Linked DNA regions of Homo sapiens: all the other regions are linked to region 1. Evidence: promoter capture Hi-C in 16 types of primary human blood cells and fetal thymus (Javierre and others, 2016). All regions are on one chromosome and are shown on one strand. Each heading gives the region's core, a stretch centred on a gene start or on the middle of the fragment in contact. The rest is flanking DNA. Distances are from core to core; before and after follow the strand shown. Region 1 holds the start of GDPD4 (glycerophosphodiester phosphodiesterase domain containing 4). Region 2 holds the start of CLNS1A (chloride nucleotide-sensitive channel 1A). Region 3 overlaps AQP11 (aquaporin 11).

Region 1 (3,850 bases), core at 528-3,027:
AAGCTTCAATGTAAGTGGTGATGGAGGAGAGTTGGGGGCAAGTTGAGGCTGGAGAGAAAGGTGAGATCCAATTTAAGGAGCTTTAATTTTTGGAATGTGTTTTAGGCATAGTCAGATTTGCATTTTTAAAAGATCAACAGTTGGTCTTAGATTTTGGGAGAGGTAAACTGGAAACAGTGAGGCGCTTTGGGAGTCTGCTGCAGTCTACCTTAACGTAGCGGTATTAAGCTGGGTTGGCATGTACTGAGATGATTAGGGCCTAGTGGGCATTGAAATGCAATAAGATAATGACTAGGCGAAATAGGAAGTATCCTAATAAGCAGAATTTGGTCACTCTGTGTAAGGTGGAGGGTTGGGGGGTTGCAAAGGAATAGGAGGAGTTGAGGATGAGACATCTGTTTCACATCTTGTCATTTAGTGATTTAGAGCCATAGAAGATGGAGCAGACATGAAGGGAAAGATAATGAATTTAAGTTAGGGTTTACTGAGTTTGAGGTGTCTGCAGCAGGACGGCCAGATTGAAGGCCAGTGGCTGGCAGTTGGAGATAAAGGTCTAGAGCTCAGGAACGAGGTCAGAGTCAGAGAAATGGCTAGAGGAATCAAAGATTAAACAAACAAAAGCGAAAACAGGCCCATTTGTGGCCCTTTGAGTGGTTGAAACTGGTTTAAAAAAGGTAAGGCAAAGTGGGGATGGTTACTGGGTACAACAGATATATAGTTAGAATAAATAGGATCTAATATTTGACAGCACAACAAGGCGACTACAGTCAGCAATTATTTATTGAACATTTTTAAAAATAACTAAGAGTGTAACTGGAACGTTCATAACCCAAAGAAATGATAAATGCTTAGGTGATGGATACTCAGTGTACCTGATGTGATTCTTTTTTTTTTTTAGATGGAGTTTCACTCTTGTTGCCCAGGTTGGAGTGCAGTGGTGCTATCTCGGCTCACTACAACCTCTGCCTCCCAGGTTCAAGTGATTCTCCTGCCTCAGCCTCCTGAGTAGCTGGGATTACAGGAATCCACCACTGTGCCCGGCTAATTTTTTTGTATTTTAGTAGAGACAGGGTTTCATCATGTTGGCCTGGCTGGTCTCGAACTCCTGACCTCAGGTGATCCACCTGCCTCGGCCTCCCAAACTGCTGGGATTACAGGCGTGAGCCACTGTGCCTGGCCTCCTGATGTGATTCTTACACATTGTATACCTTTATCAGAATATCTCATGTATTCCTACTATGAGTTGTATAAATAATACACTTATTATGTACCCATAAAAATTAAAAATTTGTTTTAAAAAGGCAGAAAAAATAGTTAAAAATAAAATAAAATAAAGAGGTAGCCTGGGCGTGGTGGCTGGGGGGCACAGGGCTGTAGTCCCAGCTACTCTTCAGGCTGAGGCAGGAGGCTGCTTGAGCCCAAGTTTGAGGCCCAGACTGGGCGACAAGACCCCGTCTCTTAAAAAATATATAAATATATAGATAGATGTATATATATATATGGCAATTTTATGAATAACTGGGATACAAAAAATTGGTAATGCTTGAACTAAGTTATTAACAAGGACTAAACTTAAACAGTCAAGTTCTTTTTGTAAGAACCAAACCAAACCAAAAACAAAGAGAGCATACCTTACCGGACATTTAAAAGGTGGGGCTCTGAGCCAAGGCTGGGGGTCTGGCCTTAGCTTCAGCCTTGCTCTGGCACGGGGTGTCCTTGACCACGCCCACAGCCCCGCCAGGCCGCCCCCTCCCGCCCCGCCTCCCTCGGGCTGCCCTTCCAGCCAGGCGTCCATCTTAAGAGACGCTGGTCTCCTCAGGCGTGAAGATTGGATTTGGGTTGGGACTGGGAAGTCTCGGTAAGTAAATGTGCCCAGTTCCGTGCTTCCTCCCTAAGCAGCACCAGAAGCAGGAAGTTCTATTAGTATTATTAGTCGGCGGCCAAACTTGAGGCCCTTTGACGTTGTTCGCTCACTCTGTCGGGTCGTTTGTGTCCCCTCTCGAGGATTACGGGCCTGGACCTCCTGTTCAGTATCTGACAGTAGCGGCTTCGTGTATTTTCTAGTTTTCTAGTTGTTAATGGCGAAGGGGATAAAAATCAGCTTCGACTATGCCAATCCTGGGCGGCAACCCTTGGGTTTTGATCTCATGAGCTGGGGAATGGCGGTGACCTTTACTGAGATGGGACAGATTGCAGGAGGAATCGATTTTAGAGGGAAAAAACATCAGGGGTTCAGTTTTGGACATATTACTTTTGAGGTGCCTGTGAGAAATCCAAATGGAGATTTCAGTAGCCTGTCGGATATATGAGTGTAGAATTCAGAGAAGAGCTCTGGGAAGGAAACAGTGTTTCTCGATCTCCCCTTAAATATTAGGAATTTTCATGTAAACGTGGCTACGCTGGCTGGTGCTTAGACACAAAGTATCTGCAGGTGTGTAGACAATGGTGGTGGTAATTATTCTGGTTAAAAAGCTGCCTTTTATTCGATATCCAAGCAGCTTACCATCCTCCCATAGAGCTTTTTGTTCATAACGTCTGCCCTTGGACACCCCAGTATTTGCAATTAGTCACACCAAGTTCTATATATATGCAGTAGTTTCATCATTAACCAACTGAAAGTTTTTTTCTCATTTCCATTGTGATTTTTCTTTGACCATGCGTAGGTTTCTGTGTGTTTAATTCCCAAATGTGCAATTTGTTTTTCTTACTGATTTCCAGTTAAATTGCACTGTAGTCAGAAGATATATTCTTAAGATGTCAAGGTTTATTAAAACCAATTGTGATTTTTGATAAATATTCCATGTCCATTTTAAAGTACACTCTGCATTTGTTGAGTACAGTGTTCTATAAATGTTAAGACTAGTTAATCAACTTTTACAGTCGTCTATATCCTTACAGACTTTTTTTCTGCTTATTCTGTTTTTTTTTTAAGAGGTGTGTTAAATCTCCTACCATGATTATGCATTTGTCCATTTCTCCCTTAGAGACTAGGTGATTGGGTACTGTTATAGTTTCGGTGCCGCAAAAGAAATAGCACTCAAATATAAAATTTTCTTTTTAATTCTTAGCAAGGCAATATACTTCTATAGAAGGGTGCACCCTTACATATGGAGCAATGGTGAGCACACACTTGGACAAGGGAGGGGAAGGGGTTCTTATTCCTGACACACGTGGCCCCTGCTGCTGTGTCGTTCCCCTATTGGCTAGTGTTAGACCGCACAGGCTAAACTAATTCCAATTGGCTAATTTAGAGAGAGTGACGGGGTGAGTGGTTTGGCGGGAGTGAGGGTGGAGCAGGTGATCAGGATGAGTCAGGGCAGAGCTGGTAATCAGAATGAGTCAGGATGGAGCAGGTGATCAAAAAAGGTTGCTTTACGAGGAAGTTTAAAAGTAGAAGGCAAAGAATTGAACATACTGACATATTGATTCTTTGAAGAGAAATTTAGAACTCATATCTAATAGTACTTACAAATTGCAAATTAAAATTTTTGTTTTTTCACATTATGAAATGTCCCTCTTTGTCTCTAGTATTGCTTTTATGCCTCATAGTTTACTTTGCTTGTCATATAGAGAGGTAGATTGTATTATTTGACTCCAACTGTTCACCCTTCCCTTAGTTACATTCTTTGTGTTCACACCTTTTTCTGTGTAACTTTACTGTGACCAACCACCATGAGGTGACCTGCGCTGATTGTTGACTTTGGGCTCAACCATATGAACAGACATCCGGTGAGGCAGAGGCTTGAAATGGGCTTGCATTTGGGACTTACTCTCTTGGACAACTTCCAACACCATGAGAACATACCCAGGCCAACCTGGTTGAGTGACACATGAAGGAAAGCCAAGTCAT
Region 2 (3,850 bases), core at 633-3,132, 340 kb before region 1:
TCCTGCCTCAGCCTCCCGAGTAGCTAGGATTACAGGCATGCGCCACCACGCCAGGCTAATTGTGCATTTTTAGTAGAGACGGGGTTTCTCCATGTTGGTCAGGCTGGTCTCGAATTCCCGACGTCAGGTGATCCGTCCGCCTCGGCCTCCAAAATGCTGGGATTACAGGCGTGAGCCATTGCCACCGGTGTATTACTCTTTCTCTATTGCAATTCCCCTGTCTTGATAAATAGGCTCTGTCTAAGCAGCAGGCACGGTGATCCCATTGGGCAGTTACAACAGGGTTGTATGTAACTGGGTTACAGGGTTGTAACAGGGTTGCTGCTGTAATGGCCCAATGGGTTCACCTTGCCTGTTGCCTAGACAGAGCTGATTTATCAAGATGGAAATTGTAACAGAAAAACAGTAATTCACGCAGAGCTGCTGTGCAGGAGACTAGAGTTTGTTGTTGTTGTTTTGAGACGGAGTCTCTCTCTGTCGCCCAGGCTGGAGTGCCAAGGCGCGACCTCGGCTCACTGCAAGCTCCGCCTCTCGGGTTCACGCCATTCTCCCGCTTCAACCTCCCGAGTAGCTGGGACTACAGGCACCTGCCACCACGCCCGGCTAATTTTGTTTTTGTATTTTTAGTCGAGACGGGGTTTCACCGTGTTAGCCAGGCTGGTCTCGATCTCCTGTCCTCGTGATCTGCCCGCCTCGGCCTCCCAAAGTGCTGGGATTACAAGCATGAGCCACTGCACCCGGCCTAGAGTTTTATTTTTACTCAAATCAGTTTCCCAGAGCATTCAGGGATCAAAGTTTTTTTGTTTTTTGTTTTTTGTTGTTTTTTTTTTTTTTTTGAGACGGGGTCTCGCTCTGTCGCCCAGGCTGGAGTGCAGTGGCGCTATCTCGGCTCACTGCAAGCTCTGCCTCCCGGGTTCACGCCATTCTCCTGCCTCAGCCTCCCCAGTAGCTGGGACCACAGGCGCCTGCCACCACACCCGGCTAATTTTTTTGTATTTTTAGTAGAGACGGGGTTTCACCATGTTAGCCAGAATGGTCTTGATCTCCTGACCTCGTGATCCGCCCGCCTCGGCCTCCCAAAGTGCTGGGATTACAGGCGTGAGCCACCGCGCCCAGCCAGGGATCCAAGTTTTTAAGGATAATTTGGCAGGTTGGGGAAGGCCAGTGAGTCAAGAGTGCTGATTGGTTGGGTGGGAGATGAAGTCACAGGGAGTTGAAGCTGTCCTCTTGCGCTGAGTCAGTTCCTGGGTTGGTGGGGAGGGGGCACAAGATCACATAGCCAGTTTATCCATCTGGTGGTGCCAGCTGATCCATCAAGTGCAGGGTCTGCAACATATCTCAAGCACCGATCTTAGGTGCAGTTTAGGGAGGGTCAGAATCTTGTAGCTTGCAGCTGTAATTTCTAATCTAAACCATAATTTCTAATCTTGTGGCTGATTTGTTAGTCCTACAAAGGCAGTCCAGTCCCCAGGCAAGAAGGAAGTTTGTTTTGGGAAAAGGCTGTCATCATCTTTGTTTTAAACTTCAAACTGTAAACTAAGTTCCTCCCAAAGTTAGTTCAGCCTATATCCAGCAATGAACAAGGACAGTTTGGAGGTTAGAAACAACATGGATTTGGGTAGGTCAGATCGCTTTCAGTGTCTCAGTTATAATTTTGCAGTGGTGGTTTCACTGTGACAATCCTGAGGGACTTCCCACAGAACCCTCAGTTATTGAAGCCCAAAGCCTCAGAAATGGCGAGGAAGAAGGGGAAGGGTGTTGCGCGGTCAAACTCCACACGTTCTTAGCCGACCTCCGCCGCTTTTCCTAGAATGTCTCATCTCTATGGTCGACGGCGTTCAGATTCCGGGGCAGACTAAGTTGTTCTTCCGGGGTGACTGCCTCTTCCAGGGCGGGCGGTGTGGTGCACGCATTGCTGTGCTCCAACTCCCTCAGGGCCTGTGTTGCCGCACTCTGCTGCTATGAGCTTCCTCAAAAGTTTCCCGCCGCCTGGGCCAGCGGAGGGGCTCCTGCGGCAGCAGCCAGACACTGAGGCTGTGCTGAACGGGAAGGGCCTCGGCACTGGTACCCTTTACATCGCTGAGAGGTAGGGTTCCTGGTCCCCAGCGCTGGCCTCCTGCGCGCCGCCCTCCTCCTTGCTGGAGCAGGCGGTGCGAAGGAGCCGGGCAAGGGGCGGCCTGGAGGCCTGCTGGGAGCGGGGTCTCGTGCCCGACGCCTCAGGGATACCTGTAGCGGGTGGAAGGCTCGATTTTTCTAGTACTCCTCCGGAGTCTTCCATTCTCTGTTTTCTCCGGCCGGAATTTCCCCTTATGGATTGTGCTTTTTTTTTTTTTTTTTCTTTTTTTCCTCTTTCTCTTTCTCTGTCTCTTTCTCTCTTTCTTTCTTCTTCTTTTCTTTCTTTCTTTCTTTTATTTTCTTTTTTTTTTTTTTTTAACTCGCCTATTTACTGGAGGTCTGGCGCGTGCGTTGCCCTTAACGCACGGTCTGGTTTTAAGGGTCTGAAGTGTGCCTGTCTTTCCGGATGAACAGATGCAGGAGATGTTCCCCTCTCTGGGATACGTAGTTTCAGAGCCGACTGTGGAGGACTTTTAAAGTTTGGTTACACAATAAAGATTTTCTTCTGTAGGTATAGTAAGGAGAGGAACACCCTTAACTCGACACAGACAGGGGTCATATGCAGAGGGACCAGACTCCCGTTTTGGGGTCCTGGAAGGAATTGCCCTTTTATTTGGCCACGTGGAGCACTTTGGTATTTTGACAGTCAGATAGATCTACCGTAAATATTGTGGTTGTAGAACAGAGGTCCCTGTTTCCTTGACATGCAGTTTTCTTTATTTTGAAGCCTGTAATGACACATCGAATCTTTCCTGCCCTTCAGATATGTGTTGCTTCCCCTTTTGCTCCATCACTTGTCTACAGCCAGAGAAAATTCTCTACTTTTAAGAGCTCATGTGATTACTTTGGAACCACCTGTAAAATCCAGGATAATCTCCCTATGTTACTGTCGACTGGTAACCTTAATTACGTTTGTGAAGTCCCTTTTGCTGTGTAATATAACATATTCACCCGCATGACACCAGAAAGTGAAGGTCGTGGGGCCAAAATTCTGCCTACTACAGAATCCAGAGCACAAAAACTGTAAAGAACCTCTGCTTTAAAGGGAAATTTAGACATTGAACAAGGTTTAGGCTTCAGGCCAGAAACTGAGATAGGACATATGGATGGGAGGAAAAGCAAGATTGAGGTGAGAGGCAGATAATGAGTTTGGTCAGGACATGTGTGGAGTAGTTGTACATATGACCGTGTTGGGCCGGGCGCGGTGGCTCACACCTGTAATCCCAGCACTTTGGGAGGCTGAGGCAGGCAGATCGCTTGAGCCCAGGAGTTTGAGATCAGCCTGGGCAGCATGGCGAAACCCAGTCTCTACAAAAAATACAAAAATTAGCCAGGCATGGTGGCGGCCTGTAGTCCTAGCTACTCAGGAAACTGAGGTGGGAGGATCACCTGAGCCCAGGAGGTCGAGGCTGCGGTGAGCCGTGATTGTGCCCCTGCACTCCAGCCTGCATGACAGAGTGAGACCCTGTCTCAAAAAAAAAATAAAAATAAAAAAAGAATGTGTATCTTGGGAAAGTGGTATTAAAGAGAGATGTTTGGAGGTCGTTAAAGTGTTAGTGTATACTCATGGAAATGGATTAGATATCTCAGAAGAGAAGAGGACCAAGTGTAGAACCCTAGGGATACGCCGACGGGTGGGTCATGAAAGAAGAAACTTGAGAAAGGAGGAAGGAGCAGTCAAAACAAAATGTGAAGAGCATATATTGAGTATTGACAAGGAGATCTTTGATAATTG
Region 3 (3,850 bases), core at 530-3,029, 290 kb before region 1:
GAAATCATGGCTCAATACAGCCTCAAACTTCAGGGCTCAAGCAGTCTTACTGTCTCAGCCTCTTAAGTAGCTAAGACTACAGGCGTGCACCACCATACCTGGCTAATTTTAAAATTTTTTTGTAGAGACAGGGTCTTGCTATGTTGCCCAGACTGGTCTCAAACTGCTGGCCTCATGCAGTCCTCCTGTCTTGACGTCCCGGTCCTGGGATTACAGACATGAGCCACCATACCTGGCCTTAACCATTACATACATATATATATATATATATATATATATTTACATATATATTTACATATATATTTACACATATATATTTACACATATATTTACACATATATATTTACATATATATATATATTTTTTTTTTTTAATTGAGACATAGTCTCGCTCTGTTGCCCAGGCTGGAGTGCACTGGTGTGATATCAGCTCGCTGCAACCTCCGCCTCCCAGGTTCAAGCAATTCTACTGCCTCAGCCTCCCAAGCAGCTGGGATTACAGGCGCCCGCCACCATGCCAGGCTCATTTTTGTATTTTTAGGAGAGATGGGGCTTTACCATGTTGGCGTTGAATTGGTTAAAGAATAGTAGAGTAGTGACGATAATGAATAGGCTGTGGGTGGTCATGTTGATTCAGATTATGAATCAACAGGCTGGTCTTGAACTCCTGAACTCAGGTGATCCGCCCGCCTCCGTCTCCCAAAGTGCTGGGATTATAGGCATGAACCACTACACCTGGCCTTAACCACTATATTATACTGGCATAACAAAATAAATTTTGGACCTTTGAAGGTGTTTTTCATTTGTAAATTGATAATAGCTCCTATTTAAAAAGAACATATGTTCCCTTCTCTCTTTTTTTTTTGACACTGAGTCTTGCTCTGTTGCTCAGGCTGAAGTGCAGTGGCATGATCTTGGCTCACAGCAACCTCCGCCTCCAGGGCTCAGGGGATCCTCCCACCTCCACCTCCCGGGTTCAAGCGATTCTCCTGCCTCAGCCTCCCAAGTAGCTGGGATTACAGGTGCCCACCACCATACCCAGCTAATTTTGTATTTTTAGTAGAGACAGGGTTTCTCCATGTTGGTCAGGCTGGTCTCGAACTCCCGACCTCAGGTGATCCGCCTGCCTCTGCCTCCCAAAGTGCTGGGATTACAGGCGTGAGCCATCCTGCCCGGCCATATTATTTCTTCCTGTACAGTTTTTTAGAGTAAACAGACTATTTGCTAGTTCGTTCACTTATTCTAAAAATACATTTACTTTGTACCAGGTCCTATGCTAAGATCTTGATATATGTTATGACAAATAAAACAAATGTGGTCTACAGACTCAAAGCTTGTCATCTGGTAGAGGAAAACAGGCATTGTGTCAGAAAACAATATAATTTAAAATTCTATGAAAGAAATGAGCAGTATGTGGTAATAAAGACAACTGACGTGTAAAATAACAGATGTTTTTCTTTCTTTTTTTCTTTTTTTGAGATGGAGTTTTGCTCTTGTTGCCCAGGCTGGAGTGCAATGGCACGACCTCAGCTCACTGCAACCTCTGCCTCCCAGGTTCAAGCGATTCTCCTGTCTCTGCCTCCTGAGTAGCTGGGATTACAGGCATGCGCAAGCATGCCCAGCTAATTTTGTATTTTTAGTAGAGGTGGGGTTTCTCCATGTTGGTCAGGCTGGTCTCAAACTCCTGACCTCAGGTGATCCACCCACTTCGGCCTCCCAAAGTGCTGAGATTACAGGCGTGAGCCACCACACCCGGCCCAGGTGTTTTTCAATATCTAATTATGCATAAAAAATGAATGCAGCTCTCTCTCAAACTGTTCATTGAACTAAATTCTTCCAGAACCCAAAGTAAGGAAGATTTGCTTGAAATCTGATTAACAGTTTATAGCTCTAATATGTTAATAAATCGCACAGCTTTTTTTTTTTTTACACGATTAGGGGAGCCAGTTAATACACGATAAATGGCAATGACATAACTGGGGCTCCATGTGCCATCAAAATTTGGGGTGCTAAATCAATAAATACACAGACACTTGGTCACTGGCTATCCTTAGGAGCCTGTGGCTATGTTGCTGGATGCTTATGTTCTGTAATCCTAAAATACATAAGTTATTTTGATGTACCCTGTATTGGTGACTTCTCAGTGCCCTCAAAATGCAAGTGATTAAAGAAATCTCCCAAGGTGCACCTTTGTCAAATCTGTACTTGTAGTATCCTAGAAGCTTAAAAAAGACATATCATAATAACTTGTAATGATGCCTGACTTAGCCAACTGTCCCAAGACAGTCCTATTTGTAACAACTCTGTTCCAAAGTTATGACTTATAGCCATAGAAAATAAAAGGGAGAGATGGGACTTAGTGCAGCATTTCCCAAAGTATGTTCTCTTCTGCTACACACTCCTAGACAAGAGGATCTCGTAAGTTTGAAAAACTGTGCTCCAAATCCTCCTCTTGGAGTTTCACAATACTTAGAAGCATAGTAAAGGCTCTATGAAGTCTTAAAATTAGAAAACCTGTTTAATCCAGTGTCTGCCAAATTTATTTGGCAACAACATCATTTTGTAACTTAAAAATTGTATAAATTATGGTGAAATATATATATACCATAAAGTATGCCATTTTAGCCATTTTTAAGTGTATAAGTCATTGGTGTTACATTCACCATGCTGTTTCACCAGCAGCACCATTTCCAAAGGTTTTCATAACATAAACAGAAACTTTGTACCCATTAAACAATAAGTCCCCATTCCTCCCTCCTCCCCACAGTCCCTGGTAACTCTATTCTACTTTCTGTCTCTATGAAGTTGCCTAATCTAGATATTTTGTATATGTAGAGCCATACAGTATTTGTCTTTTTGTGTCTGGCTTATTTTGCTTGGCATATTGTTTTTGAGGTTCATTCATGTTGTAGTATACATCATAACTTCATTCCTTTTTATGGCTGAATATATTCAATTGTGTATAGTTTTGTTAACTTTTGAGGAGCACACTGTGGAAATGCTGATAATGAATCCGTATGAGCTTTAGTGCCAGTTGGAACCATAGTTCTAACACAGTCTAGTTATGTAAGCTTAGATAAGTCATTTCACTTTTCTGGGCCTCACTTACTTTACTTAAAATGGGAAGAATATATTCATCGATGGGTTGTTTTTTTTTGTTTTTGTTTTTTTTTGAGACGGAGTCTCGCTCTCTCGCTCTGTCTCCCAGGCTGGAGTGCAATGACTCGATCTCGGCTCACTGCAAGCTCTGCCTCCCGGGTTCATGCCATTCTCCTGCCTCAGCCTCCCCAGTAGCTGGGACTACAGGCACCCGCCACCATGCCTGGCTAATTTTTTTGTATTTTTTAGTAGAGACGGGGTTTCACCGTGTTAGCCAGGATAGTCTCGATCACCTGACCTCGTGATCTGCCCGCCTCGGCCTCCCAAAGTGCTGGGATTACAGGCGTGAGCCACCGCGCCCGGCCGATGGGTTGTTGTAAGAATTAATTAAGATAACTCTCATAAATTTCCTTGCAAAATGCTTGGCCTATAACAGCTGACAACTGAATATTCTTATCTCCCTTATATTGGCAGAAAACAAACAAAGGGAAGATCATACTGCATTATAAATTTCTGTAACTAATAGTAATCAACAATTGTCTATTTTGTTCTACCCATGCAAACAGACTCTAGCACTGTCCAATCCTGTACCCACTAGCTACAGCACAATTTGACAACTGACCACTTGAAATGTGGCTACTCTGAATCTAATTTCAGTTAATTTAAGTGTAAACAGCCACATGCAGCTAGTGGCTACTGAATTGCACAGTGCAGGTCTAGACTCCTAAAGCAGTGCTTCTTTACCTTGGTTT

The links. Contacts are between HindIII fragments. The CHiCAGO score rates a contact against its expected background, and 5 or more counts as called.
Region 2: the fragment with the promoter of CLNS1A here is called in contact with the fragment with the promoter of GDPD4 in region 1 in 2 of 17 cell types (neutrophils and M0 macrophages); the score reaches 9.2 in neutrophils.
Region 3: a contact is called between a fragment that was not itself captured here and the fragment with the promoter of GDPD4 in region 1, in 3 of 17 cell types (M2 macrophages, M1 macrophages and neutrophils). The highest score is 5.8, in M2 macrophages.

The regions. Positions count from the first base shown.
Region 1 is chr11:77,299,613-77,303,462 of GRCh38, reverse strand. It overlaps GDPD4 (glycerophosphodiester phosphodiesterase domain containing 4), which reads left to right and starts at 1,777. Exons shown (of 17, transcript NM_182833.3): 1 at 1,777-1,858. The HindIII fragment of the contact is 12,830 bases long and covers 6-3,850 here.
Region 2 is chr11:77,635,826-77,639,675 of GRCh38, reverse strand. It overlaps CLNS1A (chloride nucleotide-sensitive channel 1A), which reads left to right and starts at 1,882. Exons shown (of 7, transcript NM_001293.3): 1 at 1,882-2,086. The coding sequence starts at 1,962. RefSeq lists enhancers at 1,741-1,980, 1,635-2,154. The HindIII fragment of the contact is 10,516 bases long and covers 1-3,850 here.
Region 3 is chr11:77,592,967-77,596,816 of GRCh38, reverse strand. The region is part of intron 1 of AQP11 (aquaporin 11); the gene reads right to left. Among named protein-coding and RNA genes, the nearest start is that of AQP11, 4.9 kb to the right of the region's middle. RefSeq lists a silencer at 2,406-2,606. The HindIII fragment of the contact is 889 bases long and covers 1,335-2,223 here.